6 separate regions of the Homo sapiens genome follow, and all the other regions are linked to region 1. The links are contacts of gene promoters, found by promoter capture Hi-C in blood cells and fetal thymus (Javierre and others, 2016). All regions are on one chromosome and are shown on one strand. The core of a region is centred on a gene start or on the middle of the fragment in contact, and the rest is flanking DNA. Distances in the headings are between cores, read along the strand shown.

Region 1 (4,755 bases), core at 1-2,500:
GGGTAGGTGACTCGGGAGGGGGGTGCAATCTCAGAAGCCTTCTTTTCTGGGGATCAGTCTCTGTCAGAAGCAGGACAGAGTAATCTGATCCCACTCCCGCCACCCCACACTGCATCAGGCCTCCATCTGGGTGCTCCAGTTCAGATGCTAGGACCTCAGAGGGAAGGCAGAGATAGACCAAGTGGGGAGTAGACACCCTAGGCCTGGTGTACAGAAAGTAGTAGAGAAGCCCTTCCAGGGCAGGAGTTTGAGACAGCGGCCTGGAAGTTAGAGTTGGAGGCAAGTTCTCTTTGTCCAGTTCCTTTATTTGGGGCAGGGCACCAAGAAGAGGCCCTCCGCTCCCCAAACCCAGAGGCAAAAGGGGTTGGCACGCTCCCTCCCAGCCTAGTCCTTGCGTCACTGTCCATGGGCAATTCCTCTGCCCTGCATCTTCAGGCCATGTCAGGTAGAGGTATCCATCTCAGGGACCTCAGTGGACACTTCCGTGGGCACTGCCAGCCGCCTGGGGGGCACATAGGATCCCATACCCGCTGCCCTCTCCGCCTCTTCCTGACTGTAGGGCTCGACGCTCAGCTGCTTCAGCCTGGGAGAAAGAAAAACAGGAGTTGGGAGCTGACCAGGTGAGAGCCCTATCTGCTGAGCACCCATCCATCAATCCTCTCCTTACTCCTTCATACCTTTTCTTGTGGTCTTTGGATCGGAAGTGGGTCTTCAGGTTGGTGGAATCGATGAAGTACCTCCTGTAGGAATGGAAGTGAGAAGGAGAGTGAGGAGGTGATAGTCTCCCAAGTGCACCTATCTCCCTAGCCCTAGCTTGTCCCTGACGCCAGGATCCGGGTCTGAGAAACGGGAGGCGGGCGGACCCACGGGTCCCAAGAGAGAAGACTCTGCGCTGCCTGGGGCTTCAACTTCACATCTCCCGGCCGGTACCGCGGACCCTCCTCCGCCCCAGGCCGGGCTCGTCCGGGACTCACGCGCAGGCCAGACAGCGGTGCAGACCGCCCCCTGGCAGGTCGGGGTCGAACTCGGCGTTTGGGTCGGGCTGGGGTCGTGCGGATCCCTGAGGCCGCAGCTCGCGGTGAATCTCATCCAAGTCCGGCCGCCGCCGCTTCGCCTTCATCTGCCGGGCTAGAGAGTGCGCTCGGTGCGCGCCTGTCCGGCGGGAGCGACCCATGGCCAGAAACAGCCCGGCCGGCCAAGGGGCCAGGAGCAGGGCAGGGAGCACACGTGTGAGCACTTCCGGGCCGATCAGCTACGTCAGGCCACGCCGGGGGGCTAGGCAGGCTCGGCCGGACCGCCTCTGATGACGTCACTCTCGGCCAGCGGCTCGAGCGCCGCCAGGCGGCCGTCGACGTCAGTGACCGAGCTCAGGACGGGCTCCCAGAAGTGTGCCCACTGAAGGGCATGGCCCCGCGGGCCCTCGCTGGGGAGGCGCGGGGTGGTGCGTGCGCCTGGGGGTTTCGGGGCCGTCTTGCTGCCCTGCTCTTCCTGGCCTGGTCCAACCAGTATCAGTGCCAACCTGTACTCCTGTCATCCCTTCCTGTTTCCCAGACCTTGGACTCCGCGGTGGGGGTGGGATGCTTTATCTCTGGAAAGCACTGATAAATGTCTGTGTCATGAATAAATTAGTAAATGACTGAGAGTGAATAAGTTTGGAATCCCAGCCCCACCAGGGCTTCCCGAGATAATCTCCAGTCCCTGAAAAAGCCCTCACTTCTCCGGGCTCCCGTTATTCCCTTGAGTCTCCATCCTCTCTCTGACCCCAACCAAATCCGTGAAGGGTGTTCCTCCCCAGAGAGTGCAGTCCTCAGGCATCCAGACTCCAGAGGGATCAGTTCCTCTCACAAGTACTCATAGAAGGACCTCTCCATCTTTGCCTCCTTTCTCTAAGCCCTGGGCTCCCAGAGGTGGGCTGGCAGCAAAGGCCTAGGTGTTGCATGCTCAGAGTGGCTAGAGGGCCTTTCCCCATTCACAGGAGCCTGGTGCCTCCCAGGCTGGCCAGAGCCAACTCAGCTGGAAGGGGCCAGAGGAGCTTAGCAATAATTCAGGGGCTCCAGCTCTTTGGAGTCTGTTGCCAGGAAACAAGGAGACAGGCACGTGTATCCCTGGGGAGAGGAATCAGTTTCCAGCCCAGACAAAGGAGTGAAATGTAAGCCCAAGGTGCCCACTGGGGGCCTGCGGACCTTCCTGCTCCAGTTCATTGAGGCTAAGTAGGGACACAGGGTGGAGCCCTGCTGAGGACACAACTAGTATGACTACAGTCACAGGGGCTCCAGTGTGGGTCCCAGACCTCAGGATTTTGTGAATGGAAGAAGATTTTCCTGGAGGCATGCTAAGAGATGAACAACTCAAGTACTCCTAGGCCCAGGAAGAAAGCCTCTCTAGAGACAAATGACTTCATTATTCTTGGCCAATATGGGTCAAGACAAGGGGCTAAGGTGGCAGAAGCTTGTTCCATCCCCCACTCCCCGACTCCTTTGGATCAGGTTCACCTCCTGGGCACTGTGCCAGCTGGGGAGGCTGGTGCATCTTTAATGAAGTCACTGGATCCCTCGGACAGGCTCTTGGCCTCACCAAGTTCCTAGAGCCAGACTCACTGGTATCCACTGAGCCACCACCTTCCTGTGCTTGCGTGCCAGGCCCCTTCCCCCTGCAGCCATGAACCAGGCCTTCTGGAAAACCTACAAGTCCAAAGTGCTACAGACCCTGAGTGGGGAATCTGAAGAAGACCTGGCAGAGGAGGTGGGTGCCATCCATGCATGGTGGGTGGAGCATGTGCAGAGGGGCAGCAGGAATGAGCAGTATGAAGTGGGGCACAGGATAGGCTTGGAGGTGGGGGGGCCACATTTGTGCAGATGCCACATTCAGGGATGGTAAAAACCATGGTGCAGCATCAGAAAGCCAGGACATTCAAGAAAACTGAGGAAGAAAAGACTTAGGGACCATGGGAGGAGTGGCCACTGTCTCCAAAGATCTCGAGGCTGCCACATGGAAGAGATTCTTCTAGGACCAGTGGGCAGTAGGCACACGGGCACACTTAGCTGGACACAACTTTCTAATGGGAGCAGAAGTAGGAGTGATGTAGTGAGCCCCATGTTACTAGAGGTAGGGGGAGTGGCGCCTGTACTAGAAAGGTCACTGCAGCAGCATCAGATCAAAGCCATACTTAGACCATGCTTTGTTCTGACATTACAAAAAACAAGCAAACAAACAACAACAACAAAAAACAGGCTGGGCCGGGCACGGTGGCTCATGCCTGTAATCCTAGCACTTTGGGAGGCCGAGGTGGGTGGATTGCCTGAGCTCAGGAGTTCAAGACCAGCCTGGGCAACACGGTGAAACCCAGTCTCTATTAAAATACAAAAAAAAGTAGCCAGGCATGGCGGCGTGCACCTGTAATCCCAGCCACTTGGGAGGCTGAGGTAGGAGAATTGCTTGAGCCTGGGAGGCAGAGGTTGCAATGAGCTGAGATTGAGCCATTGCACTCCAGCCTGGGCGACAGAGCAAGACTCCATCTCAAAAACAAACAAACAGGCCAGGCGCAGTGGCTTCTGCCTGTAATACTAGCACTTTGGAAGGCCACGGAGGGTGGATCACCTGAGGTTAGGAGTTCGAGACCAGCCTGGCTAACATGGCGAAACCCTGCCTCTACTAAAAATACAAAAATTAGCTGGGCATGGTGGTGGGCACCTATAATCCCATCTACTCAGGGGGCTGAGGCAGGAGGATCACTTGAGCCCAGGATTTCGAGACCAGCCTGGGTGACATGGTGAAACCCTATCTCAACAAAAAAATACAAAATTAGACAGGCATGGTGGCACACACCTGTAGTCCCAGCTACTCAGGCTGAGGCGGGTGGATTGCTTGAGCCCAGGGAGGTCGAGGCTCCACTGCACTACAGCCTGTGTGACAGGTGAGACTTTGTCTCAAAACAACAACAGCAAAGTTTCTGAAACCAGGGACAGTCTTATGTCTGGAGGCTGTGATAAGTGGCAGTCACACAATCACACAAAATGTGGCAGAGGCAGGAATCGGTTCAGAGGGGCGGGGAATGGTTTGAATTCTTAAATGTCTGGAGAGGTTGGTGTCTAAGGCTGGGCTTGTGCAGAAATGTCAGTGGGTAACTGGTGTGATCAGTATCTGGGTGGAATCCCCAGTGAAAGTGTATGTGAAGGTGTGAACATTTTGGGTAGCAGTCTGCCTGCATGCCTCTGTGTAGACATTTGCAGGTGTTGTTTGTATGGTGTATGTGTTTTGGTATCTGTGGTTGGGTGGAGAGGTTTTGTGTGTTGTGGATAGGCCTCTGTGCAGCTGTCTGTGGTTGTATAAGTGCACAGGTGTGAATGATATAACTGTGTGTGTCCTTGTATAGGTGCTTCACAACACGTATGTCTATGTACAGGTGAAGAGCTGTAGCCATGTGGGGGCATGCTCATGTACAGGTGTGTGTCTACATCAGAGTGCATGCCCATGTCCACGTGCTTTTGGGTGTATATGGATGTGTCTGTGGTGGGCAGGTATGTGTGCTCAAGGGTGTCTGCAGCTCGGACTGGCGGCTCACGCCTGTAATCCCAGCACTTTGGGAGGCCGAGGTGGGAGGATCACTTGAGGCCAGGAGTTCGAGACCAGCCTGGCCAACATGGCAAAACCCCATCTCTATTTAAAATACAAAAATTAGCAGGGCGGTGGTGGGTGCCTGTAGGCCCAGATACTCAGGAGGCTAAGGCAGGAGAATCACTTGAACATGGGAGGCAG
Region 2 (4,755 bases), core at 1,267-3,766, 220 kb before region 1:
ACCTAGGCCCTACCTTAGCTCATGTAATCCCCCCGCAAAACTTCCTGATGCGGGAATTATTGTCTCCATTTTTATTTTATTTTATTTTATCTTATTTTGAGATGGAGTTTCACTCTTGTTGCCCAGGCTGGAGTGCAATGGCATGATCTCAGCTCACCGCAACCTCTGCCTCCTGGGTTCAAGCGATTCTCCTCTCTCAGCCTCCCGAGTAGCTAGGATTACAGGCATGCACCACCACACCCAGCTAATTTTGTATTTTTAGTAGAGACAAGGTTTCTCCATGTTGGTCAGGCTGGCCTCAAACTCCCAACCTCAGGTGATCCGCCTGCCTCAGCCTCCCAAAGTGTTGGGATTACAGGCGTGAGCTACCCCGCCCGGCCTATTGTCTCCTTTTTTTTTTTTTTTTTTTTTTTTTTTTGAGACGGAGTCTTGCTCTGTTGCCCAGGCTGGAGTGCAGTGGCGCGATCTCAGCTCACTGCAAGCTCCGCCTCCCAGGTTCACGCCGTTCTCCTGCCTCAGCCTCCCGAGTAGCTAGGACTGCAGGTTCCCGCCACCTCGCAAGGGTAATTTTTTTTGTATTTTTTAGTGGAGACGGGGTTTCACCGTGTTAGCCAGGATGGTCTGGATCTCCTGACCTCGTGATCTGCCCGCCTCGGCTTCCCAAAGTGCTGGGATTACAGGCGTGAGCCACCGCGCCCGGCCTATTGTCTCCATTTTTAAAATGAGAAAGCAGAGTCTCAGAGATTAAACAATTTGCTCATGGTAACTGACAGGAAGTGACCCATCCAGGTCAGTCCCATGCTGCAGTTCATGCTCCTAACCACTAGGGCACACTGCATTTCAGCAATGGCATCTGAGATGACACCAAACTCTACATAAACCATGCCGGACTTGGCTGGGCGCGGTGGCTCACGCCTGTAATCCCAGCACTTTGGGAGGCCAAGGCGGGCGGATCACGAGGTCAGGAGATCAAGACCATCCTGGCTAACACGGTGAAACTCCGTCTCTACTAAAAATACAAAAAATTAGCCAGGCGTGGTGGCGGGAGCCTGTAGTCCCAGCTACTCGGGAGGCTGAGGCAGGAGAATGGTGTGAACCCGGGAGGTGGAGGTGGCAGTGAGCCGAGATCGCGCCACTGCACTCCAGCTTGGGCCACAGAGCGAGACTGTGTCTAAAAAAAAAAAAAAAAAAAAGAAGAAGCCATGCCGGACTCAAGGCCTCCAAATGATAGGAGTCTGTCCCTTCCCTCTCCTTATCACTGGGTCCCTGTGGTTCAGCCATCGAGGAAGGATGACAGAAAGACAGATGCATGGAGCTGTCCATTTTCCGTTCCAGCCTCTCCTGAATGCAAGCAGCATCGTGAGGTTCTGAAAAGAGCCTCCACTCCTGTTCTATTAAAGGAGAGGGAATGGAACAAAGGGAATGGACATTCCAAGATCCTTGATTCCAAGACTCTCAAAGTCAAATAGACCTTGCAGATCAGCTGACCCTCTCCCATACTCCAAGCTTGACACCAGCCATTGTCCAGATCAGCTTGCAAACTTCCAGCAACAGGGAACTTACTGCTGTGAATGCCTTGCCCATCCACAGATAGTTGGGATTGTTAGAAAGTTCTTTCTTCTGCCTGTGTGCAGTGGTTCACACCTGTAATCCCAGCACTTTGAGAGGCCGTGGCAGGAGGATCGCCTGAGGTCAGGAATTCGAGACCAGCCTGGGCAACATGGTGAAACCCCATCTCTACTAAAAATACAAATAAATAAATAAATAAATAAATAAATAAATAAAAATAAAAATAAATAAAAATAAAAATAAAATTAGCCAAACGTGGTGGCTCATGCCTGTAATCCCAGCTACTGGGGAGGCCGAGGAAGGAGAATTGCTTGAACCTGGGAGGCGGAGGTTGCAGTGAGCCAAGATCGTGCCACTGCCCTCCAGCCTGGGCAACAGAGCGAGACTCCACCTCAAAAAATAAATAAATAAAAATAAGAAGTTATTTCTTCCATTGAATTCAACCTAGTCTCTATAGCTTCTATCCACTGGGGTCCTTAGAACAAGTCCCCTTCCTCTTTTGCAAAGACTCTGGGGTCATGTTTTATGTTCAAACTCCAGTCCTCATCTTCTCTAGTTTTGTGACCTAAGGTTTTTAAAGGCTCAATGTCTCAATCTTGGTTAATTTTCCACTGTTTTTCTGGAAGTTAGCCCAAAGCCAGATTTACCCAGCTTGATCCTCAGTGATCCACAGCTCTTTTCTAGTGTCTGTGTACTACTTTGTACAGTGCTTTTCAGACCACAAAGTATTTTCCCATTCATTATATCACTAGACCCTGGAAAACAAGGCGGCCAGAAAAAGAGGGAGATTAGGTGGGCACATTGTTATCGCATTTTTGCAGAGGAGGCAGATCTCTGCCCCCAGTACCAGTCTTACTGCCAACTGTACTCCTTGTCCTTCCCCTTCTCACTTCTGTCACAATGCACGCTCTAGGGCCTCCAATAGCTTGATTCTCTTTCTCCTTAGGGTTTCTCCATGATTACCCCTCTGCCTGAAGCACCATTTCCCTTACTTTCACTTTGCTGATCACTATTAATTCTCTTTTATTTTTATTTTTGAGACGGAGTCTTGCTCTGTCTCCTGGGCTGGTGGGCAGTGGCGCGATCACAGCTCACTGCAGCATCTGCCTCCTGGGTTCAAGCAATCCTCCCACCTCAGCCACCCAAGTAGCTGGGATTACAGGCATGTGCCACCACACCTGGCTAATTTTTGTATTTTTAGTAGAGATGGGGTTTCACCATGTTTGCCAGGCTGGTCTCAAACTCTTGATGTTGTGATCCGCCTGCCTCGGCCTCCCAAAGTGCTGGGATTACAGGCATGAGCCACTGTGCCTGGCCCTATTCTCTGTTTTTTTAATTAAAAACATATTTTTATAAAGATGAGGTCTCCTTATGTTGCCCAGGTTGGCCTTGAACTGCTGGCCTCAACCAATCCTCCTCCCTCCCAAAGCACTGGGATTATAGGTGTGAGCCATGGCTCCCAGTCCCTTCCCCATTTTTTTTTTTTTTTTTCAGTTTTTTTTGAGATGGAGTCTAGCTCTGTTGCCCAGGCTGGAGTGTGGTGGTGTGATACCAGCTCACTGCAAACTCTGCCTCCTGGATTCAAGCAATTCTCCTGCCTCAGTCTCCCAAGTAGCTGGGATTACAGGCGCCTGCCACCATGACTGGCTAATTTTTGTATTTTTAGTAGACATGAGGTTTCACCATGTTGGTCAGGCTGGTCTCGAACTCCTGACCTCAGGTGATCCCCCCCCGCCTCGGCCTCCCAAAATTGCTGGGATTACAGGTGTGAGTCCCAGCCCCTGGCCCCCTTTCCCATTTTTTATAGTGCTCTACACATCTGTGACAGAGCATTTGTCCCACTGTATTATATATATTTGCTTATTTGTCTTTCTTTCCCACTGACCACTACAATGTAAACCCCATAAGCCAGGGACTATGTTTTGTTCATTGTGTCAGTATGCAGCACAAAGCTTGGGATAACGTAATTGCTTATTAAATGTTTGTTGAATTAATAAATGCATGACTTGCCCCAGTTTCCACAGTTAATAATGGCCAAAATTAGAATGCAGATTTTATTTCCAAGTCCAAGAATTTGTTTTTACCATCTCCCGAACCTAACCTAGTTCTTACTCCTAACCCCTGCTGTCAGGCCTGTCCCCTCTAATTCCTCAGAATCTTAGGTCACTTATCCGGAAAGGAACTTAGAGCTCATCTGATTCAATCCCTTCATTTATAGATAAGGGAACTAAGACTCATAGAAGGTAAATGCTTTGTCAAGGCTACACAGCAAAAATTGTTGCCATCCTTTCTTCCTGACAACCAGATTGGTGTTTTTTTTAATGGGATTCACCAAAGAGTTCATGGACTCCCAGGGCTTTGTCTTGGGGACGGGGGTAGTAGTAAATAAATAATTCCATCTAAGGCTCTCCTTTTATACTCCCTAGACACCCCAAAGGCTAGACACCCAAGAGTCTATTCTGAGACATCCCATCAGGCAGAAATTTCAAGCAAGACAGGATAGAGGGGTGTGGGAGTGTGTGTGTGTGTGTGTGTGTATAGGATCATGGGGCACTAAGGATGCAGACGTGAAAACTGGGCTGCAGCACAGCCCCTCTGTTGTGGGGTCCCTCGAGTCTCCCACCATGGCAACACCACTCCCTCTGCCCCTGAAGCTGACCTTTGGGGCCAGAGATCAATAACTTGGACTTTGGCTTCAGTCCCCTTTGGCCCCCCAGTGACCATAGGCTGCCCAGAAGAGCTAGTGGGACTCAGAGTCATTAAGTAACTGTCACTCTTCCCCAGCCCCATTTTGGGGCATGGCTGGGGGAGGGGCCAGGGATGGGAACTATATGGAGAGTCACAGGTGTGGTCTGGTTCTTCCCATCCTCACTGGAAGAGAAGTGACCTCTATCTCTCTTTGACCCCCACCCACTTCTTTTTACCCTCGGCCAAGAGGCTTCCTCCTGCCCTCTCTACTCCTCCATGTCCTTAGCACTGAGCCCTGACTCCCCTCACAGAACCCCCGTGCTCCTCACCATGTTCCTCTTAGTCCAATCTTTTATGAACCCCCTCCTCCCATTGTGCTCACACTTTATATAAACTGGAGGTATTTTACCCTTTTGTCAGCCAAGACAGTAGTCAGAGGCCGGGTGCGGTGGCTCACTCCTATAATTCCAGCACTTTGGGAGGCGGAGGCAGGTGGAT
Region 3 (4,755 bases), core at 1,450-3,949, 210 kb before region 1:
GAGTTGATACTACCTGGTATACCCTTGCTGAGTCTTGTCTGCTCATCCATAAAATGGAGACATTAAAAATTCCTACCTTGGAGAGTTTTTTTTTTTTTTTTTTTTTTTTTTTGAGATAAAGTTTCACTCTGTTGCCCAGGCTGGAGTGCAGTGGCAGGCACAATCATGGCTCACTACAGCCTTGACCTCCAGGGCTCAAGCAATTCTCCTGCCTCAGCCTCCCAGGTAGCTGGAACTACAGGCCCATGCCATCATGCCTAGTTATTTTTTGTAGGGAAGGGGGTCTTGCTATGTTGCCCGGGCTGGTCTCAAACTCCTGGGCTCAAGCTATCCTCCCACCTTGGCCTCTCAAATTGTTTGGACTACAGGTGTGAGCCGCCATGCCTGGCCAACTTGGAGAATTTTGAGGACGATTAAATAAGATGATCATAAAGAGATTTGGCATGTAGGAGGCATTGAGTAAATTTACCTCCTGCTTTTTCCTGGCTGCATAGTATTCTGATGCATGGATGTACATAATATGTAGCTTTCCTCTAATGGTAGACATATAGGTGGACTTTAATTTTGCCCCGTTCCACACCAGGCTGGAAAGGACATACATGTACATGGTGGGCAGTTTTGCACAGTGGCTCAGATTACATTAGCTCTGCTGGATTTGAATCCAAGCAAGGTGACCTCTTGTCTCCTATTCTCTTGGAATGGTTGAGGATAAGTGGCATGACCTTGGATATCATTTGAAGATGCATCTGCAATTTTACCCACAGAAGGATTGGAAGGTCACAGATGGGTGCAGGGGAAGACGCAAGAGTGTCTGTAGGCCCCTTCTGCAAATGTAAGAGCAGGCACGCCTTAACTCAAGATCTCTTCCCCACCTTGGGGTGTGAAGCCAAGGGCCAACTCAAATGCATCTGACAGACTGACAGCTGGGCTGTCTGGGGAGATAAGCATGTGGGTGTCAGGCAGAGGGAGGGAGGTGTCAACCACAGAGCAGAGCCAGGCAAGAGCACTGTCAGCCCCACCCTCAGCTCTGCCTGTGGAGGCACACCCTACAGCTGCTTAACCTCTAAGCCAGTGACGTCCCAGATCCCTTCCTGACCTGGGGTCCTTACCTGGTGCCTCTCAAAAGTGTCCATGTGACAGAGGTCCTGGACCCATGTGCTGAGCTGACTGGGAAGTCAGCTGGCTGGCCTCAAGGTTGGAGGTGGCAATGGATATGGGTTGAAGAAGTTTTTAAGGTTTTCAGGGAGGAAGTGGGGCTTCTGGCTGTGGTTCCGTTGTCTCCCTTTCTTGGTGCATGAGTCAGCCAACCCCACCCCCAGTTCTACTTTGCTCCTCCAGCCCCTACCCTCCTAATAATAAGCTCAGATGTACATTACTTTCCATTTCACAACATCCAGCAAGCTTCTTGATAGCCGGAATGTAATTCCAAGGTCTGAGTCATATTTCTATGGGCTGTATTCCCAGAAAATAGTCCAATGCCTGACACATAGCTGGTAATTAATAAATATGTGAATTACTTTGGGAGGCTGTTTGAGGGCAGGAGTTTGAGACTAGCCTGGTCAGCACAGCCAGACCCTGTCTCTACCAAAATACAACAAGAAAGAAAGAAAGAAAGAAAGAAAGAAAGAAAGAAAGAAAGAAAGAAAGAAAGAAAGAAAGGAAGGAAGAAAGAAAAGGCAAATAAATATGTGAATGAATGACGTTCTTGCAGGGTACCAGATGCTAATTCTGCAGCTCGTTTCAAGATGGCCTCTGTTTGTCTTAATTTTTCTGGGAGCCCCTTCTACCAAACATATTTGTGGCACTTTTTACTTCTTCAAATGCCTGGAAAGTCTTCCCTAAGCTCTCCCTCACCTCTGGGACTTACAACCTCAACTTGGGTCATGTGTTTCTTTTAAAATTGTATATATTTAAGATCTACAACATGATGTTTTGATACACATATGCTCAGTAAAGTGATTACTACAGTCAAGCAATTTAACACATCCATCACCTCACAGTTACCTTTTGTGTGTGTGTGCGGTAAAAGTACCTAAAATTACTTTTAGCAAATGTCTACTATATAATATTACTAACTATAATCCTCATGCTGTATGTTACAGCTCTAGACTTATTCATTCTAAGTAACTGCAACTTTGTACCCTTTGACCTTCATCTCCCATTTCCCTTACACCCCAGGCCCCTGCCCCTGGTAAAGACCTTTCTACTCTCTGTTTCTATGCTTTCCACTTTGGGGTCATGTGGTGTTTTTTGGTTTTTTTTTTTTGAGACTGAGTTTTGCTCTTGTCTCCCAGGCTGGAGTGCAATGGCACGATCTCAGCTCACTGCAACCTCCGCCTCCTAGGTTCAAGCGATTCTCCTGCCTCAACCTCTCAAGTAGCTGGGATTACAGGCACCCACCACCATGCCCGGCTAATTTTCGTATTTTTAGTAGAGACAAAGTTTCACCATGTTGGCCAGGCTGGTCTTGAACTCCTGACCTCAGGTGATCCACCCGCCTCGGCCTCCCAAAGTGCTGGGATTACAGGCATGAGCCACGCCCAGCCAGGTCATCTGATCTTAAGTGAGTCATTTTCCTTATCTGAGTGTCAGTTTTCTTGCCTCTAAAATGGGAATAATGGCATTCATCTCCCAGAGTCACTCTGCTGATCCAGTGAGACAAAGCGTGTGGAATGGCTTTGCATGGTTCCTGGCATATAATGAGGGCTCCCATGCCAAGAGCTATTATTATTGTGGTGTGTGGATGGGGTAGGAGAAGACTGCATTGAATGAGAGCAATGATCCCCAACCAGGGAAGGGTCAATAAATAAAGCAAGAAAACTAAATGTAGTTAATCTCTCCAATTGTGCTGCCCAAATTTCGATCTTCCAAAATGGGTCAGGAATAACCATCAAAATTTTAACACTTTTAAGAAGCTGACTTGCAGATGCTTGCCTAACTAGGTAAAGGGTAATGTACAATATAGTCATCCACATTGGTCAAGTGCTTGCTTTGGGCCAGGCACCATCCTAAGGGCTTTACATGGATTATCTTGAGGAAACCTGGAAATAATTCTATGAGGCAAGTGCTATTATTATCTCCATTTGACAGATGAGGAAAGATGCACAGAGAGGTTAAGTGATTTGCCATAAGTTTACCCAGTTGGGATTAAATCCAGCAGAGCTCGTATTCTTAACCATTCCGCATACTGACTCTGTCTGGAGGTCTTTTCCAGCCTTGTGTAGAAAGGGGAAAATTGGATCCCACCCGTATGTCCACCAACAGGGGAAGGCTACATATTAAGCACAACCCTGCAATGGAACATTATATAGTCAGGAAAAAGCAGGAGGCAGATAGGTATGTTCAGGGCATGAAATGATGCCCACAATGGATTATTAGAAAACCCAGAAGAGACTGGGCATGGTGGCTCCCAAAGTGTAATCCAGCACTTTGGGAGGCCAAGGTGGGTGGATCACTTGAGGTCAGGAGTTTGAGACCAGCCTGGCCAATGTGGTGAAACCCCGTCTCTACTAAAAATACAAAAAAATTAACTGGGCTTGGTGGCGCATGCCTGTAGTCCCAGCTTGAACAGGAGAATTGCTTGAACCCAGGAGGCAGAGGTTGCTAGTGAGCCAAGATCACACCACTGTACTCCAACCTGGGAGGCAGAGTCAGATTCTGTCTCAAAAAAAAAAAAAAAGAAAAGAAAAGAAAAGAAAACCCGGAAGAGCAATGTGCATCAATATATTCCCATGTTTGTATAAAACACAATTTAGCCTTTCAGCCCCTATGCTCAGGCCCACTCCAACACTGTGGAGTGTACTTTATTTTCAATAAATCCCTTCATTTCTTCGTTGCTTTGTTTCTGCTTTTTGTCCAATTCTTTGTTCAAGATGCCAAGAACCTGGACACCCCCCACCAGTGACATATTTTGGCCAGCCAGCCCGGAGGAAGGGCCGCTCAGGGAAAGAGAGCCCAGAAACCTGGCATACCAGCAAAAGGAGGCCATCAAGCTTCAGATGATCATGCAACAAAGGCTCCAGCCAGTCCAGGTGAAGACACCACCCCTGGCCATCAAGAAGCTACCCTGCCTCCACTAGACAGAACAAGGTGAGGGTTCCATGATCCCCAATAAGTAGGGACTACGCCCCATGCCAGCATGAAGCAGTCCCAGGAAAAAGACCATCGGTCCCTCTGCCTCCCGTGAAGATTTACGGGGACCACAATCACATCTCTTAGCGGGGAGATGAGGCAGGAAAATAGGGGCTGGAGGCAGGAAACATAAGGCCAATTCACACTTCAGCTCTGACAGGAAATAGCTTCTCCCTGAGTACATGACATTGTAACTTTACTTCATTCTCTTCATTTACATAGGGCGTACCACAAGCAGAAGGTATTTAAACTCTCAAAAACTCTGTAATGGGGCCTTTGAGCCCCTATGCTCAGGCCTGCTCCCACACTGCAGAGTGTACTTTCATTTTCAATAAGTCACTTCATTCCTTAGGAAAAAAAAAAGCAATTAAAAAAATCAATTTACCTGTTTGTTGGTTCATAGAAAAATGTCTGGAAGGGTAAACACTAAACAATTCACATTGACCACTGGGAAATTGCGAAGGAGGAGGAGCTTCCATTTTTCGTTTTTACATTTTCTGTTGTTTGAAATGTTTACCACTAGTATGTATTATTTTGCAACTAACGAAAGGAAGAAGAAAGTGTGCAGTGAGCACCGGGAGCCCAAGGACCCAGCCCCTCCAGCTCTTGTCCCCTAATGTGGAG
Region 4 (4,755 bases), core at 37-2,536, 190 kb before region 1:
GCACCAGGGGGCACTAGATCTTATGGCGGTGGCATCTGAGAAACACATGGGCTATGACATAGATGAGGTCAAAGTGTCCTCGACATCCCAGGGGAAAGCAAGAGCAGTGAGCCTGAGCAGTGCCGGGACTCCCCTGGTGATGGGGCAGGACCAGAACAATTAAAAATGTTTCTTCTGTCATGCTTTGAGGCTTCCTGAGCTTCAACAGTTTAGGTGTGGGGTGGGGGTAATGGGGGAAAGCCACTGTGTTTGCCAGACCTCACACTTCACCCGGGAGCAGGTCAGGGGACTCAGCCAGGAAGAGCCTGTGCTGCCTGTGTGTGCGGTGCTTGCCTGCAGCCATCTGCTTCAGCAAGGCTTGAGTTCCACTCCCCGTCTAGGACCAGGCTCTCCTCGTCTATTCACCGACGGACAGTCCAGCCCTCCAGCGCGCTGCAGGGTGCCGACCGTGCTGTCCAGCCTGGGCACATTGTCCTGTTCCCAACACCTGTGCAGAGGGTCCCGCTGCCCCCACTGCCTGGGTCTCACCGTTCCTATTGGCCACTTGCACCTCAGCCGGTACTCCCTGCATGGTCGTTGCGAGGTGGAGGGGGAGGGTGCCCCTCATTGTGGGTCTATTGAAGAAGGAGACTCGAGATATCAGGGTCCACTCACGACCCAGAAGCATGATGTCCTCTGTCAACCGGGTCTAGTTACCACAACACTCTGGGCTAACAGGGTGCCAGGCTCAGGGAAGGCGTGGAGGCTGCAGCCAGATAAGGGCTACAGGCAGAGAAGAACTGGCAGAGACCCTGGGGAGCTGAGGCCTGATGGCCCTTCTCCCTGTAGGCCCGGAGGATCCTCTGAAATGTACAAGGTGCTCCCCATCCCCACTCGAGTCAGAGAGGCCGCGCCAGGCGGAAAAGGGTATTGCCTGGGAGGCAGGAGGCCCAGGTTAGGATCACAATCGATGATAGTTGTTATTAAATAAGAGCGATTTGCGGACAGAGTGGGGTTCTCTGGCCAACTTCCAGGAGATGGCACCGTCCGCACCCCGTGGATTTCCGTGCGGCTTCCCCACCGCGGTGGTGACGGGATTCCCGCTCCCGGCCGTAAGTGCTTCCCATAGGGAGGAGCAAGCCCCACTGACCGTGGCAGAACAATGGCAGGGTGGGCTTCAGCCCCACCAGTAGCTAAGGTCCCGGTTCCAAGCCCACCCGTGTCACACTTTGGGCCCCGCGCGGGACGCCAACCACTCGCGTTAGACCCTCCCATTCGGCAAGACCACGCCCATTCCGAACCATCCACCCCTCCCCGCAACCGCCCCCCTTGCCCAGCTCCTCCTGCTCCTGGGGGATCCCCCTCGCTCGCTCAGCCCCGCCTCCCCGCCTCTGTTCGCCCCAGGCCACTTTCCCTGTCCGGCCTCATGCAGGTCTTGCTCTCGGGCTAGCTCACCTGGGGCTGCGGGGGGCCCTGGCGCCTCCAGGGGCTTAAAGATGTAGCGCGGACCGGGCGGAGAACCACGCCCCCGGGGTGGGGGCAAGGGCTCTTGCCGAACGTCTGGGGTCTGCGGTCCGAGGAGAACAATGAGGTTGGGGGTCCTGGAGAGTGCCCCAGGGCACGGGCAGCATCTGGATCGGGTCACCGCCCGCATGGGCTGCGGGTGGGGCCGCTGTTTGCTAGGGGGGCGGGCCGGAGGAGGCATTTCTCCGCAAATGCAGCGGATGCGGGTAGCCCCGGCGGTCAGGTGCTCCGACGGCCGGAGCCCCGGGTCTTTCACTCGCCATGGCCGAGCGGTGCGGAGGCCCGGGGGCCTGCCTGGCCCACCTTTTGGCTGGGTTAGGGGTCCGGAGGGAGCACAGAGGGAAAGAGATCTCGGAGGCCACATCCCGGGAGAGGTGAGGAGAGATGGAGAAAGGCCGCGTGGGGAGCCTCTGGGCCCTAGACCGTGTGTGTGTGTGTGTGTGTGTGTGTGTGTGTGTGTGAGAGAGAGAGAGAGAGAGAGAGAGAGAGTAGTGATCAAATAAGCGTGTATGTGTATCTCTCGAAGCATAAAAATATATGTGTCTTGGGAGTCCGAGGCGGGCGGATCACGAGGTCAAGAGATTGAGACCATCCTGGCCAAACAACATGGTGAAACCCCGCCTCTACTAAAAATACAAAAATTAGCTGGGTGTGGTGGCGCACTCCTGTAGTCCCAGCTACTCCGGAGGCAGAGGCAGGAGAACCGCTTGAGCCCGGGAGGCAGAGGTTGCAGTGAGCCGAGATCGAGCCACCGCACTCCAGCCTGGCGACAGAGCGAGACACCGTCTCCAAAAAAAAGAAGAAGAAGAAGAAGAAAAAAATATATATGTATACACACACACACACGTGTGTGTGTGTGTGTGTGTGTGAATGTACCACGATTTTGGATGTGAATGTGGAATGGTCCCTGTGCTCTTTTAAAACTTTACAACTTATGTGGACAGTTTCCTAAGTCAGGCAGGTAGCCTGCAGACGACAGAGACAGTTTAAGGGCAAAGGCAGTAGTTCTTCCCTCCCCTATGGACTTTGATTCTCGCATCACAGCTGATTTCTTCATATCCCTTTGTCATGAACCTGACAGGTTCCGTCTGAGACTGTACTGCATTTGCACTTAGATGCCACGGAGAGGTTTTCCCCTGTCGTCCCCACCCCTGGAGATAGCTCTAGATTGTAATAACAATAAGCCTTTATTTGCCACATGCTTCATACTTCACCTGGATTATCTCACGTAATCCTCACAGCAGCCCTATGAAGCAGGTATTCCACATGATTCAGATAAGGAAATGGAGGTTCAGAGAGGTGACGTCACCTGCCCAAAGCCACACAGCTGGGGCGTGGTGTAGCTGGGACACAGGCTTTGGCAGTCTGACTTCAGAGCCCACATTTCTGAAGCTTTGTTGCCTGCAGGGACTGCCAGACTGCAAGACCCGGCTCCTAGCTGTAGGTGCCACTGGTTATATGACCCTGAGCAGATTGCTTCACCTCTCTGAGCCCGTGCACTGGTAGCTGATGTCTGAGGGGTTGTGTGTGTGTGTGTTAGAGTGTTGTGGTTGATCAAATAAGTGTGTATGAGTATCTTGAAGCATAAAAATATGTGTATCAATGTACCACGATTTTGGATGTTAATGTGGAATGCTCCCTGTGCTCTTATATCCTTTATGTATTTACTTATTTGTTTTTTAAGATGGAATCTTGCTCTGTTGCCCAGGATGGAGTGCAGTGGCACTATCGCATCTCACTGCAGCCTTGACCTCCCCAGGCTCAGGTGATCCTCCCACCTCAGCCTTCTGAGTAGCTGGGATTACAGGCACATGCCACCACGCCGGGCTGATTTTTTGTAGAGACAAGGTTTCACCATGTTCCCCAGGCTGATCTCGAACTCTTGGACTCAAGCAGTCTGCCCACCTCAGCCTCCCAAAGTGCCAGGATTACAGGTGTGAGCCACTGCACCTGGCTCTCTTTTCTTTTGATTTTTTTAAATTTTTTTTTAATAGAATCAGGGTCTTGCTCTGTCACCCAGGCTGGAATGCAGTGTCACTATCATAGGACACTGCATCCTCAAACTCCTCCTGCCTCAGCCTCCCAAGTAGCTAGGAACATGCCAACATGTCCACCCAATCTTTTTATTTTTTGTAGAGTTGGAATTTGGCTATGTTGCTCAGCCTGGTCTCAAACTCCTGAGCTCTACTGATTTGGCTTGGCCTCCCATCGTGCTGGGATTATGGGTTTGAGCTACCAGACCCAGTCCCTTGTGCTCTTTTTTTGTTTTGCTTTGTTTTGTTTTGTTTCATTTTTGAGATGGGAGTCTCACTCTGTTGCCCAGGCTGGGGTGCAGTGGCATGATCTCGGCTCACTGCAACCTCTGCCTCCCAGGTTCAAGTGATCCTCCTGCCTCAGCCTCCTGAGTAGCTGGGACTACAAGCACGTGCCTCCACGCCCAGCTAATTTTTGTATTTTTAGTAGAGACAGGGTTTCACCATATTGACCAGGCTGATCTCGAACTCTTGATCTTAAGTGATCCGCCCGCCTCGGCCTCCCAAAGTGCTGGGATTACAGGCGTGAGCCACCGCGCCTGGCCCCTTGTGCTCTTTTAAAACTTTAAAATGTTTTAAACAGAAGGAAAAACATCCTGTGGAAGGCCAAGTCAAAAGGCAGGGAAGGCAGTATTGAGAATCCGAGAGCCCCACAGCTCCCCGGTCCTACATCCGTGAAGAGCATAGGGTGTGCTCTCACGCATGGGTGTTTATGTGTCTGCCCAGTTACCCGGCAATTTGTTCTGATCTTATCATGGCACAGGTGTCTTCAGCCTGCGCCAGGGGGACTGGGGGTGTGGTGGGGGCAAAATGAGGGCAGGGATTTGTGCTGCTCTGTCACCCTAAAGAGAGAGGAGAGGAAGGTCCAGTCACCCTATGCCTGGAAGCCTGGGTGCCCTGGGGTGTCCACACCCTGCCAGTGCCCTGCCCGCCCCCGCCTGGAAGACACGCCCTCCCCCTTTACCCTGTCTGGCAGAAACCTGCCCTATAGGCCCAGGCGGCACTGCCCCTCCCTCTCTGGACTTGGAGGTGCAAATGAGTCAGGGGTGGGGAGGGCCAGGAGGGGTTGCTCAGGCAATCTGCAGGGCTGGAGTGATGATTCTTGGCCATGCTACACTTGCTCTCCGATCTCACCCGCCCTGGGAATGGGAACCCGGTACCGAGGCAGGGGCCTCTGACCCCTGCTGATTGCTGGGGGTATGGAGTGCGCAGAGGAGGA
Region 5 (4,755 bases), core at 284-2,783, 140 kb after region 1:
TTGACATCTATTTGCCACAGCGGTCTTCTCTAAAGATGGGGAAACTGAGGCCAAGATTGGAGAAGAAACTTGCCCCAAATCTCACAGCCAAGTCTCAGATTCATCCCAGGACCATCTTCAAGGAAGGGGGGGGGGTTCCCCAAACACTGTGGCAGAGAAGTATGGAGAGGTGACAGGGATGAAGCAGGAGTCAAGAGCCAGGACCCCCATCAGGTGAGACCCCTCACCTCCAGAGTGGTATGGATGACCTTCTCCACTGAGGAGAAGTAGGCATCCCATAGAAACTGGGTCTGCTGACGCAGGGCGAGGACCCGTGCAGGGGACATCTCCTGGAGGGCAGCCAGGACCTGGAGCAGAGAGGGAGAAAAGTGCCAGGTAATAGAGCAATTTTGAGCCCAGGAGGTCGACGCTGCAGTGAGCCATATTCGTGCCACTGCACTCCAGCCTGAGCAACAGAGCAAGATCCTATCTCAAAAAAAAAAAAAAAAAAAAGAAGCATTCAGGGGTCACACAGAGTTGGGTCTGAATGCCACTTGGTAACCACGTGACTGTGGTTGAGCTATTTAACCTGAGTATTTGCTCATTAATTGCTTAGTACATTGTAGAGGCTCAATTAAAAAAATGGTAATTACTATTAACCCCCTCTGCCATTCTCAGGGGATTCAAGGCAGGTCACACATATATTTTTCAGAGCTGGACAAAATTAGTTTCATCAGATGGAAAAGTCGCCATGCGTTTTGCTTTCCCACTCCAGTCCCCATGGAGGCGCTCTGAGTTTGAATTTTTTTGTAGCCTTCCCCTAAATTGGTATTTAAGCAGTCACAGGCCATTGGAGCTGGGCCCATGGGGATTGTCTGGTCTAGCTCATCCTATTGTAGAGATGATAAAACTGAGGCTGGAAGAGGATCAGGACTTGCTCTCAGAACCCTTAGGAATCTCTAGCTCCATCAGATCCTCTGGGAGCCCCAGAGGGGAGACTTGGTGCTAGGAGAAATTCACCAGTATCCATAGAAGGCAGATAGGAATGAGGACTGAGGCCAGCCTCGATCCAGGATTCTAGGTCCCTCCCCTGTCCTGGGTCCAGTTCCCACCCTGTGGGCAGGGCTCTGAGCTACCTGAAGTGGGAGCCTCTCATCAGCTACGATGGCTGCCTTGGTCCAGTCGATGACCTCGGAGAAGGGCAGCTCCCAGCGGGGGCTGAGAAGCACTGGGATGCAGCCGGCCTGGGGGGCGGGGAGGTCACTGGGGAGCCCAGCCCCACCCTGCACATACTCACCCCCCGCCCAGTTCCAAGTCAGTAGCTGCTGCTGTTGGGGGCAAGGGGCAAAGAGGACAGGAACATGGGATTTTTCAGGGAGGGGAGGTTATGGTTGTTCTGCAGAGGGTGCAGTGAATGGGGACACAGGCATGCCTGAGTCCAGGAGTAAAGGAGCAGGCAGCTTACTGCCCCTTCTCATTGGCCTGGACCCAGAGTACCCTGCCAGCTCATGAGTGCTGGGGGACAGAGGATGGGTGATGCTCAAATTGGGGTTGTACCTGCAGGGCTTGGAGGAAGCGCGAGGCAGCCTCGGGACGGTGGCCAGAGATGAGGCAGAAGGTGGCATTGGGCAGCGTCTCCTGGCGCTGGGTCCTAAAGAGGCACATGGGGAGGTCCCACCACACATGAGCCTGGACAGTGACCTTCGCCCCCTGGGCTCCCTCAATGGGAGAACCCCACACCCCTGCACCCCACACCCACACTCCCAAATGTGTAAACCCACTCATGCATATGCACAGCCGCACACTGACGCACTAACACAAACACAAGCATCACACCAGCCACGCATCTGTGGTTGGACTAGGAGGCAGGAGCCCTGCATTCTAGCTCTGCCTCTGCCCTCAGTGGCCTTAGACACCTCCCTTGCCTTTCTCTGGCCTCAGTTTCCTCATCTGTAAAATGGGAGGCAGCGGACGCTGATGTTTCCGAGGCCCTGCCTGACTTAGACATGCACGTCTGCCCTCCCCCACTCGGCCACAGGCAGACTTTCAGCACCCCTTGCCTGCGTGGCCTCTGAGCCCAGCCCTCCCCGATGCTAAAAGCCAGGCCCGTGAAAGGCTCCTCTGTCATGAGGTGGGCTGGGCCCCCAGCCTGGAACCACACAGGAAACTGCTGCCCAGAGGTCCCCTGGCCCAGAGGACAGGCTCCCTCTGTTCCTCCCACCTACCCCCTCCACCACCCTAGCCCAGGGCCACACTCAGGCTGTGTGTGCCTGTGGGGGAGGGCAGGAGTCCCAGCCTCCTCAGAGCCAGCCTGGCAATTGTCCACCCAGGGGACCATTGCCTGCAACCCAGCCAGGGGAGGGATAAAGGGAGGGACCAGGACACAGGCCTGCTCAGTGTGGGACTCATGACTAGGGCCCAGAGGGTACTAGGACCCTCCTCAGTTACAGCCTGTTTGGCTCTGAGCCTGAACCTCCAAGAAGCAGACCTGGGAGTACTTAGGCAGCCTCGGGGCCATGCCCCATTGAACAGATGGGGAAACTGAGGCCCAGAGAGACCCAAGGACTGGCTCAGGGTCACAGATAGGGTTGAGTGGAGCTGGGACTAGAGCAGAGATTTGCCAGCTCCTGACCCTGAGTTATCTGAACCACCCCAGAGCTGCTGCTTTAGGGGTCTTCCAGGGGACCCCAGCCTTCTTTGTCCTCCCTCCATGCTTAAGTGTCCACCAGGCCCTCCTTGGAAGAAGCCACAAGTAAGCATCAGGACACCCTTCACCTCATGAAAAGCCACAGCAGAAGCCAACCAGGTACAGCCCCCTTCACCCTTAAGTCAACCTCTAATGAATTGAAAACCTCTAGGTTAAGGCTGAATCAACTGCACCACTGAGCCTTAACCTCCCTTGATCCTCTGTGCCTTTAAGATCCCTTCTCCCTCACGTTGGAGGGCCCCTCCCTGCCTTGTCAGCCTGAGGAAGTCCTCCTACTCATCTTTTTCTTCTGAGACAAGCTCTTGCTCTGTCACCCAGCCTGGAGTGCAGTGGTGCCATCACAGCTCACTGCAGCCTCAACTTCCCAGGATCAAGCAATTCTCCTGCCTCAGCCTCTGGAGTAGCTGGGACTACAGGCACGTGCTGGCTTTTTTTTTTTTTTTTTTTAGAGATGGGGTCTCTCTGTGTTGCCCAGGCTGTCTCAAACTCCTGGCCTCAAGTGATCCTCCTGCCTCAGTCTCCCAAAGTGTTGAGATTACAGACATGAGCCACCACACCTGGCCTTCTTCTACGCTGTCTTAATGTCTAAGCTGAAACATCACCTCCTCTGGGAAACCCTCCTTGATCTCTCCAGAGATGGCTTTCTCTACTCCCACCTCCCAGTGGACTGCAGTAGTAATGATCCAAGCTAACCTATATTGAGTATGTACTTTGATCCAGGTACTGTTCTAAGTGCTTTACAGGTATTAACTCAGTTCATTCTCACAGCACCTCTATGAGATAGGAGGGGAGGTATGCACTGTTATTATCTCATTTTACAGATGAGAAAACTGAAGCCCAAAGAGGTCACACAGCTCTTGAGTAGAGGAGCCAGGGAGGCAGCCGGTGCAGCCTCTCTCTGCTTAACAATGTGTGTCAAACAATTGACTTGCCTGTCTCTCTTACAAGGCTGAGCTCCTTGAGGATGGGGCTGTACCTCCCTCATCTCAGTATCCCTAGGGCCTAGCAGAGTGCTTGGTGGAGAATGGGAGCTCAGTGGGTGCTGCCGAATGCTCAGTGAGACACTAGGGAATAGATCTGGGACCAAGAGACCAGGTATCTGGGAGGTCAATTTCAGCAGAAATTCTAGTGATGGAGCTGGTTGAGCGTGCAGCCAGTGGGTGGTCTTTGGAGGTGGTGAGTTCCCCATCAGTAAAGGGAAATAAGTAGAGACTGGATGAGCACCTTTGGCGGGGAACAGGGAATGTGTTACAGAGGAAACTTGTGCATCTATGTGGTGACCACTGAAGAAGTCTTAGGCTTCTGTGACCATGTAAGGTACCTGCCATAGACTCAGGGCCTCAGTGCCCAAGGGTGGTCAGCGTGGCTGTGCCCATGGCCTCAGTGCTCTGCTGGGGCCTGGCCATAGGTAGGGCTGCATTGTGACTTCCATGTGCCCTACTAGGCACTTTGGCCTTCACAGTCTCTCCTGCCATAAAAAAAGAATATAGTTGATAACTGTGTTGGTATAAAAACAAGCAATATTATATATTAAAACATTTTCTGCTGGGCGCCGTGGCTCATGCCTGTAATCTCAGCACTTTGGGAGGCCGAGGCAGGCAGATCATTTGAAGTCAGGAGTTTGAGACCAGCCTGACCAACATGGTGAAACCCCATCTCTACTAAAAATACAAAAATTAGCTGGGTGTAGTGGTGCGTGCCTGTAATCCCAGCTACTTGGGAGGCTGAGGCAGGGGAATCGCTTGAACCCAGGAAGTGGAGGTCGCAGTGAGCCAAGATTGTGCCATTGCACTCCAGCCTGGGTGACAGAGAAAGACTTTGTCTCAAAAAAAAAAAAAATTTTTTTCTTCTACCTGAAAGTTCATTTTTAATTCTGCCTTTTTTTTTTTTTTTTGAAACAGAGTCTCTCTCACTCTGCTGCCCAGGCTGGAGTGCAGTGGCATGATCCCAGCTCACTCTAGCCTTGACACCCTGGGCTCAAGCGATCCTCTCACTTCAGCCTCCCAAGTAGCTGGGACTACAGGCTTGCACCACCACACCCAGCTAATGTTTGTAATTCTTGTAGAGAC
Region 6 (4,755 bases), core at 129-2,628, 150 kb before region 1:
AATCCTGGTTTAATCACTGACCAGCTCTGAGACCCTGGGCCAGAAACTCTACCTCTCTGACCCTTTAACAAAAGAACTGCCGGATTACATGTAATAATAACCAATTTAAAAAGAGCCAGAACATAGCAGATATTCCGTAAATGAGTTTGTTGTTTAAAGAAGATTGGGGCAGGGTATAGGAGCTGAAGGAGAAGGGCTGGGATAGATTTATGTTTCAAGGGAAGGTTGTAGATGGGCTGCAGGTTCTGAATGAAAGCTTGGGAAATGTTTAGATTGTGGAAGGGTTGGTGGATTTCTGTGAAGGTGCTGGAGGTGAGGAATCGGGAAGCCTGGTTTCAGTTGGGCTTTCCCTCTCTAGGCCTCAGTTCCTCATTTCAAGGAACTGGGAAGACTGAAATAGATTATTTCTGAAGTTTGTTAAAACCTAGTGTTTTGTTTTGTTGTTGTTGGTTTTTTTGTTTTTTTTTTTAAACAGAGTTTTGCTCTGTGCACTGGCATGATCTCGGCTTACTGCAACCTCCACCTCCTGGGTTCAAGCAATTATCCTGCCTTGGCCTCCCGCATAGCTGGGACTACAGGTGTGTGCCACCATGCCTGGCTAATTTTTTGTATTTTTTTTTTTTTTTTAGCGGAGACTGGGTTTCACCATGTTGGCTAGGCTAGTCTCGAATGCCTGATCTCAAGTGATCCGCCTGCCTCGGCCTCCCAAAGTGCTGGGATTACAGGCATGAGCCACCGCGCCCAGCCAAGACCTAGAATTTTGTGATTTTGGTAGAGAAAGTAGCAAGCAGATGGGTTGTTTGTATTAGCTGAGGATGAATGGGAGGGGAGCGAGGGAAGGGACAAGTGGGTGACTAAGCTACAGTGGAAGGGGACTGGGGTGAGAGAGTGGCTGTGAGGGCCCAGGGAGGGGTGGGGGGATGAGAGGAATCCCACAGCTGCCTGGATAGTGCTCCATGCTTTATGCATTCCCTCACTTGATACCCTCTGTGGTGCCCTGCAGCAGGTGTTATGTTTATCCCCATTTGACTGGTGAAAAAACTGAGGCTTAGATGTTAAGTGACTTGCTAAGGTCGTAAATGGTGGAGCCAGTCTCATTTGACCTTGAATCCAGGTCTGTCTGAAGCCACAGCCATGTATGTAACCTCTGGGGCTGCCCTAGAATTCATCCATTAAGTCTTGATTCCCTGCCACTCCCTCCCCCTCCCCTACACAAACTCCCCCCAGGCCCCAGGAGTTGGTCACCACAACCCCAGCTCTGGCCCACTCTCCCTTCACACTCTCCCTTCCTTAGTCTACTTTAGGCCTCATTTACATGCTAGGTAGTAAAGGGAAAACTCCCCTCACTTCTCTTCTATTGTTTTGGGCCTTGTGTTGCAAGCCCAGGGGAGATCTGGCTGAGGCTGAGTCCAAAGAAAAAAACAGAGGCTGGGCATAGGGGCTACGCCTGTAATCCTAGCAGTTTGGGAGGCTGAGGCGGGCAGATAACTTGAGCACAGGAGTTTGAGACCACCCGGGCAACATAGGAAGGCCCCATCTCTCAAAAAAAAAAAAAAAAAAAAAAAAAATTAGCCGGGCATAGTGGCACAAACCTATAGTCTCAGCTACTTGGGGGCTGACGCAGGAGGATTGCTTGCACCTGGGAGGCCCAGGCTGCAATGAGCCATGATTGTGGCACTGCACTCCAGCCAGGGTGACAGAGCAAGACCCTGTCTCAAAAAAAAAAAAAAAAAGGCCAGGAAACAGTGGCTCACGCCTGTAATCCCAGCATTTTGGGAGGCCGAGGTGGGTGGATCACCTGAGGTCAGGAGTTCTAGACCAGCCTGGCCAACATGGTGAAACCCTGTCTCTACTGAAAATACAGAAATTAGCCAGGTGTGCTGGCACATGCCTGTAATCCCAGCTACTCGGGAGGCTGAGGCAGGAGAATCACTTGAACCCGGGAGAAGGAGGTTGCAGTGAGCCGAGATCGTGCCATTGCACTCCAGCCTGAGCGACAAGAGAAAAACTCCATTTCAAAAAAAGAGAAGAGAAGAAAAGAAGAACTGAGAGTCAAAGCTGATGAGAGAAAGCCAGGAAGTGGAGAGGGAGGGGCGGGGAGGGAGAGAAGAGGGAGGAGTCCCCAGCCATCCATCACCCTCTTTCCCCATCCCTGCCCTTTCACCCAGAGGTCTCTCCTCACCCTTGACTCAAGTTCTCAGCTGTCTTTGGTGTGCCTGTGGGGGTGAGTGATTCTGGGGTTCATGAGAGTCAGGGAGGTGTCCTGTGCCAGAAGGGCACCAGCCCAGAAGACAGGATACCCGTGTTGAAGTCTGAGATTACTCTGCTGAAAATGAGCTCCATCACACTGTGCAATCTTCTCCCCTCTTACAAAGAGGCAGCCAGACAGGACGAGCCTGGGGCCAGCCGTGTTATAGTTTCCCATGCTGGAGATGCATGCGAGGATACTAAATGCCAGACTCTTATTTGTAAACATTTTCTTGCAAACCTCAGAAGCTTCATTTTCACCTCCTGACACCCTGAGGAGTATCTTCTACAGTCCATGTATTTCCTCTGCAAGGAAAGCCCTTCTCCAATTATTTTACCTGGCAAACTCTTTTTTTTTCCCCTCGAGTCAGGTTCTTGCCGTTGTCACCCAGGCTGGAGTACAAGTGGTGCAATCATAGCTCACTGTAACCTCGAACTCCTGGGCTCAAGCAATCCTCCCGCCTCATCCTCCTAAGTACCTGGGACTACAGGTGCATGCCACCATGCCCAGCTAATTTTTGGGGTGGTGGAGGGTGGAGTTTTGCTATGTTGCCCAGACTGCAAACTCTTCTTTATTCTTCAAGATTTAGCTTAGAAGCCCCTTCCCCAGGGAAACTTTCCACTTTCCCTAGGAAACTCAAAGTTCCTAAATGTTCGAAGGGCCCTTTCTGTTGACCTCTGTTCTAAAGATTGTGTCTACCAAGAATATGGTCTGTCCCTTGTGGGTTGGGACTAGATTTTGTCACTTCTCTTACTCAGCGAAGCACAGAACATGGCACAGTGTAGGTGTCAGGGACTGCCGGAAGAATGAGTGCGTGTATTCATCTAGATCTATTCCCACCTCCGAGCCTAGTAGTCCTGCATTTATTCATCCAGTAAATATTTACTATGGGGCAACAGTAAAGTCAGTACTGAAAAGTTACCAATGCAGAAAAGAAATAAGGGACTGAGAGAAGCAAGCCCTTTATATGGAGCTGCTTTCCTCCTAAAAGTATGCCACTTGCAGAGGGGACAGCTGAGAAACTGAGCTGAGCTTTCTCATCTTCACATACTTACAAATGTATGGGAGAAAAACTATAGTTCTAGATTCTCTAAGAAAGGGGAGCCCTGACAAACTCCCCCCACCTAGGCTTTGGGTTGGACCACGGGGAGTGAGAGTAAACAGGAAACAACAGCCCAACCCTCAAAGAAATTGAAGACAACATGACCAAAAAGCAGAAACAGATAATAGAAAGTTATACAAAAGATCCAGATAATGGAATAATCAATCAAATTTTCAAATAACTATGCTTACTTAAAGACATTTTCCTCTTCTGCCCTCTGAGCAGCAGGACAAGATTGAGAACTAGAAATTATAGTAAAGAACCGGCCGGGCGCGGTGGCTAACACCTGTAATCCCAGAACTTTGAGAGGCCGAGGCGAGTCGATCACAAGGTCAGGAGATCGAGACCATCCTGGCTAACAAAGTGAAACCCCATCTCTACTAAAAATACAAAAACTTAGCCAGGCATGGTGGCGGGCACCTGTAGTCCCAGCTACTCGGGAGGCTGAGGTAGGAGAATGGCATGAACCTGGAAGGCAGAGCTTGTGGTGAGCCGAGATCGTGCCACTGCACTCCAGCCTGGGCGATGGAGCAAGACTAAGTCTCAAAAAAAAAAAAAAAAGAAAAAAAATTATAGTAAAGAACCAAATGGAAATTCTAGAACTGAGAAATATGGTAATAAAAATTAGGAACTCAGTGGATAGGTTTAACATCAGATTGGGCACAACTGAAGAGAAAATTAGTGAAGTGAAGTAAAGATCGTAAGAAAGTATTATTAGAGCAGAATGTGTTTATTGGGTGCCTGCTGTGTACCAGGTACTGAACTAGGCACTGGGAATACAACAGTGACATAAAGACATGGTCCCTGCTATTATGGAGCTGATATTTGAGTGGGGGAAGACTAATAAAAAACAATGGTAATTTCAGATGTTCACAAATGGCATCAGGAAATCAAGGGGGTAATGTGAGAAGAAGAAGAAGTGAAATGTGGGGAGGATATATTCTAGGTCAGTGGTCAGGAAAGACCACTCAGAGGAAATGTGTGTGCTGAGACCTGCAGAACAAGAGAAGACCAGGCATGCAAAGCACCTTAGATCACAATTCCATCCCAGTTCCACAGTGTCTTTTGATGACTGTCCCTGGGGCCTAGCACAGTCTCACATAGGCCAGGTTCTCCAAATGTCCTTGGTCAATGATAGAATGGAATACAGCAGGGAGGGAGGAAGGAGAAGAGAGTTATAGCACACGTCACAGTGTGATCCGCCTTGAATTTTTCATCCTCACTGAGACAGGGCTGGGATTCAGTAGCATCATACAGCATCCAAGGTGAATCTTCATCCACCCATTCATTCACCTATCCACGCACCCACCTATCCATTCAGTCTTTTGCTCATTCACTCTTTTTTTTTTTTTTTTTTTTTTTTTGAGACAGAGTTTTGCTCTTGTTGCCCAGTCTGGAGTGCAAT

What was found. Contacts are between HindIII fragments. The CHiCAGO score rates a contact against its expected background, and 5 or more counts as called.
Region 2: a fragment that was not itself captured here is called in contact with the fragment with the promoter of ZNF593 in region 1 in 8 of 17 cell types (M2 macrophages, M0 macrophages, M1 macrophages and 5 more); the score reaches 18.2 in M2 macrophages.
Region 3: a fragment that was not itself captured here is called in contact with the fragment with the promoter of ZNF593 in region 1 in 7 of 17 cell types (M0 macrophages, M2 macrophages, M1 macrophages and 4 more); the score reaches 13.9 in M0 macrophages.
Region 4: a fragment that was not itself captured here is called in contact with the fragment with the promoter of ZNF593 in region 1 in 10 of 17 cell types (M0 macrophages, M2 macrophages, monocytes and 7 more); the score reaches 14.9 in M0 macrophages.
Region 5: a contact is called between a fragment that was not itself captured here and the fragment with the promoter of ZNF593 in region 1, in 1 of 17 cell types (erythroblasts). The highest score is 6.0, in erythroblasts.
Region 6: a fragment that was not itself captured here is called in contact with the fragment with the promoter of ZNF593 in region 1 in 2 of 17 cell types (endothelial precursors and monocytes); the score reaches 7.2 in endothelial precursors.

Annotation. Positions count from the first base shown.
Region 1 is chr1:26,166,403-26,171,157 of GRCh38, reverse strand. It overlaps ZNF593 (zinc finger protein 593), which reads right to left and starts at 1,250. Exons shown (of 3, transcript NM_015871.5): 1 at 975-1,250; 2 at 678-740; 3 at 285-583. The coding sequence starts at 1,174. The coding sequence ends at 442. It overlaps C1orf232 (chromosome 1 open reading frame 230), which reads left to right and starts at 2,195. Exons shown (of 4, transcript NM_001364669.2): 1 at 2,195-2,742. The coding sequence starts at 2,659. ZNF593OS (ZNF593 opposite strand) reads left to right here. Exons shown (of 4, transcript NM_001395468.1): 3 at 1-2; 4 at 560-1,637. RefSeq lists an enhancer at 1,381-1,480 and a silencer at 2,714-2,869. The HindIII fragment of the contact is 4,459 bases long and covers 1-2,450 here.
Region 2 is chr1:26,392,516-26,397,270 of GRCh38, reverse strand. No RefSeq gene overlaps it. Among named protein-coding and RNA genes, the nearest start is that of LIN28A, 16 kb to the left of the region's middle. The HindIII fragment of the contact is 2,015 bases long and covers 1,509-3,523 here.
Region 3 is chr1:26,374,805-26,379,559 of GRCh38, reverse strand. No RefSeq gene overlaps it. Among named protein-coding and RNA genes, the nearest start is that of ZNF683, 4.4 kb to the right of the region's middle. RefSeq lists an enhancer at 1,097-1,306 and a cis regulatory region at 629-1,522. The HindIII fragment of the contact is 2,591 bases long and covers 1,404-3,994 here.
Region 4 is chr1:26,357,059-26,361,813 of GRCh38, reverse strand. ZNF683 (zinc finger protein 683) reads left to right here. Exons shown (of 6, transcript NM_001114759.3): 6 at 1-180. The coding sequence ends at 163. Among named protein-coding and RNA genes, the nearest start is that of CRYBG2, 5.3 kb to the right of the region's middle. RefSeq lists an enhancer at 1-143 and a silencer at 2,762-3,056. The HindIII fragment of the contact is 3,222 bases long and covers 1-2,897 here.
Region 5 is chr1:26,026,068-26,030,822 of GRCh38, reverse strand. EXTL1 (exostosin like glycosyltransferase 1) reads right to left here. Exons shown (of 11, transcript NM_004455.3): 2 at 1,537-1,630; 3 at 1,116-1,223; 4 at 228-347. Among named protein-coding and RNA genes, the nearest start is that of EXTL1, 6.7 kb to the right of the region's middle. RefSeq lists an enhancer at 912-1,777. The HindIII fragment of the contact is 8,483 bases long and covers 1-4,755 here.
Region 6 is chr1:26,312,939-26,317,693 of GRCh38, reverse strand. It overlaps a transcript of UBXN11 not described here. Among named protein-coding and RNA genes, the nearest start is that of CD52, 2.6 kb to the left of the region's middle. The HindIII fragment of the contact is 2,240 bases long and covers 259-2,498 here.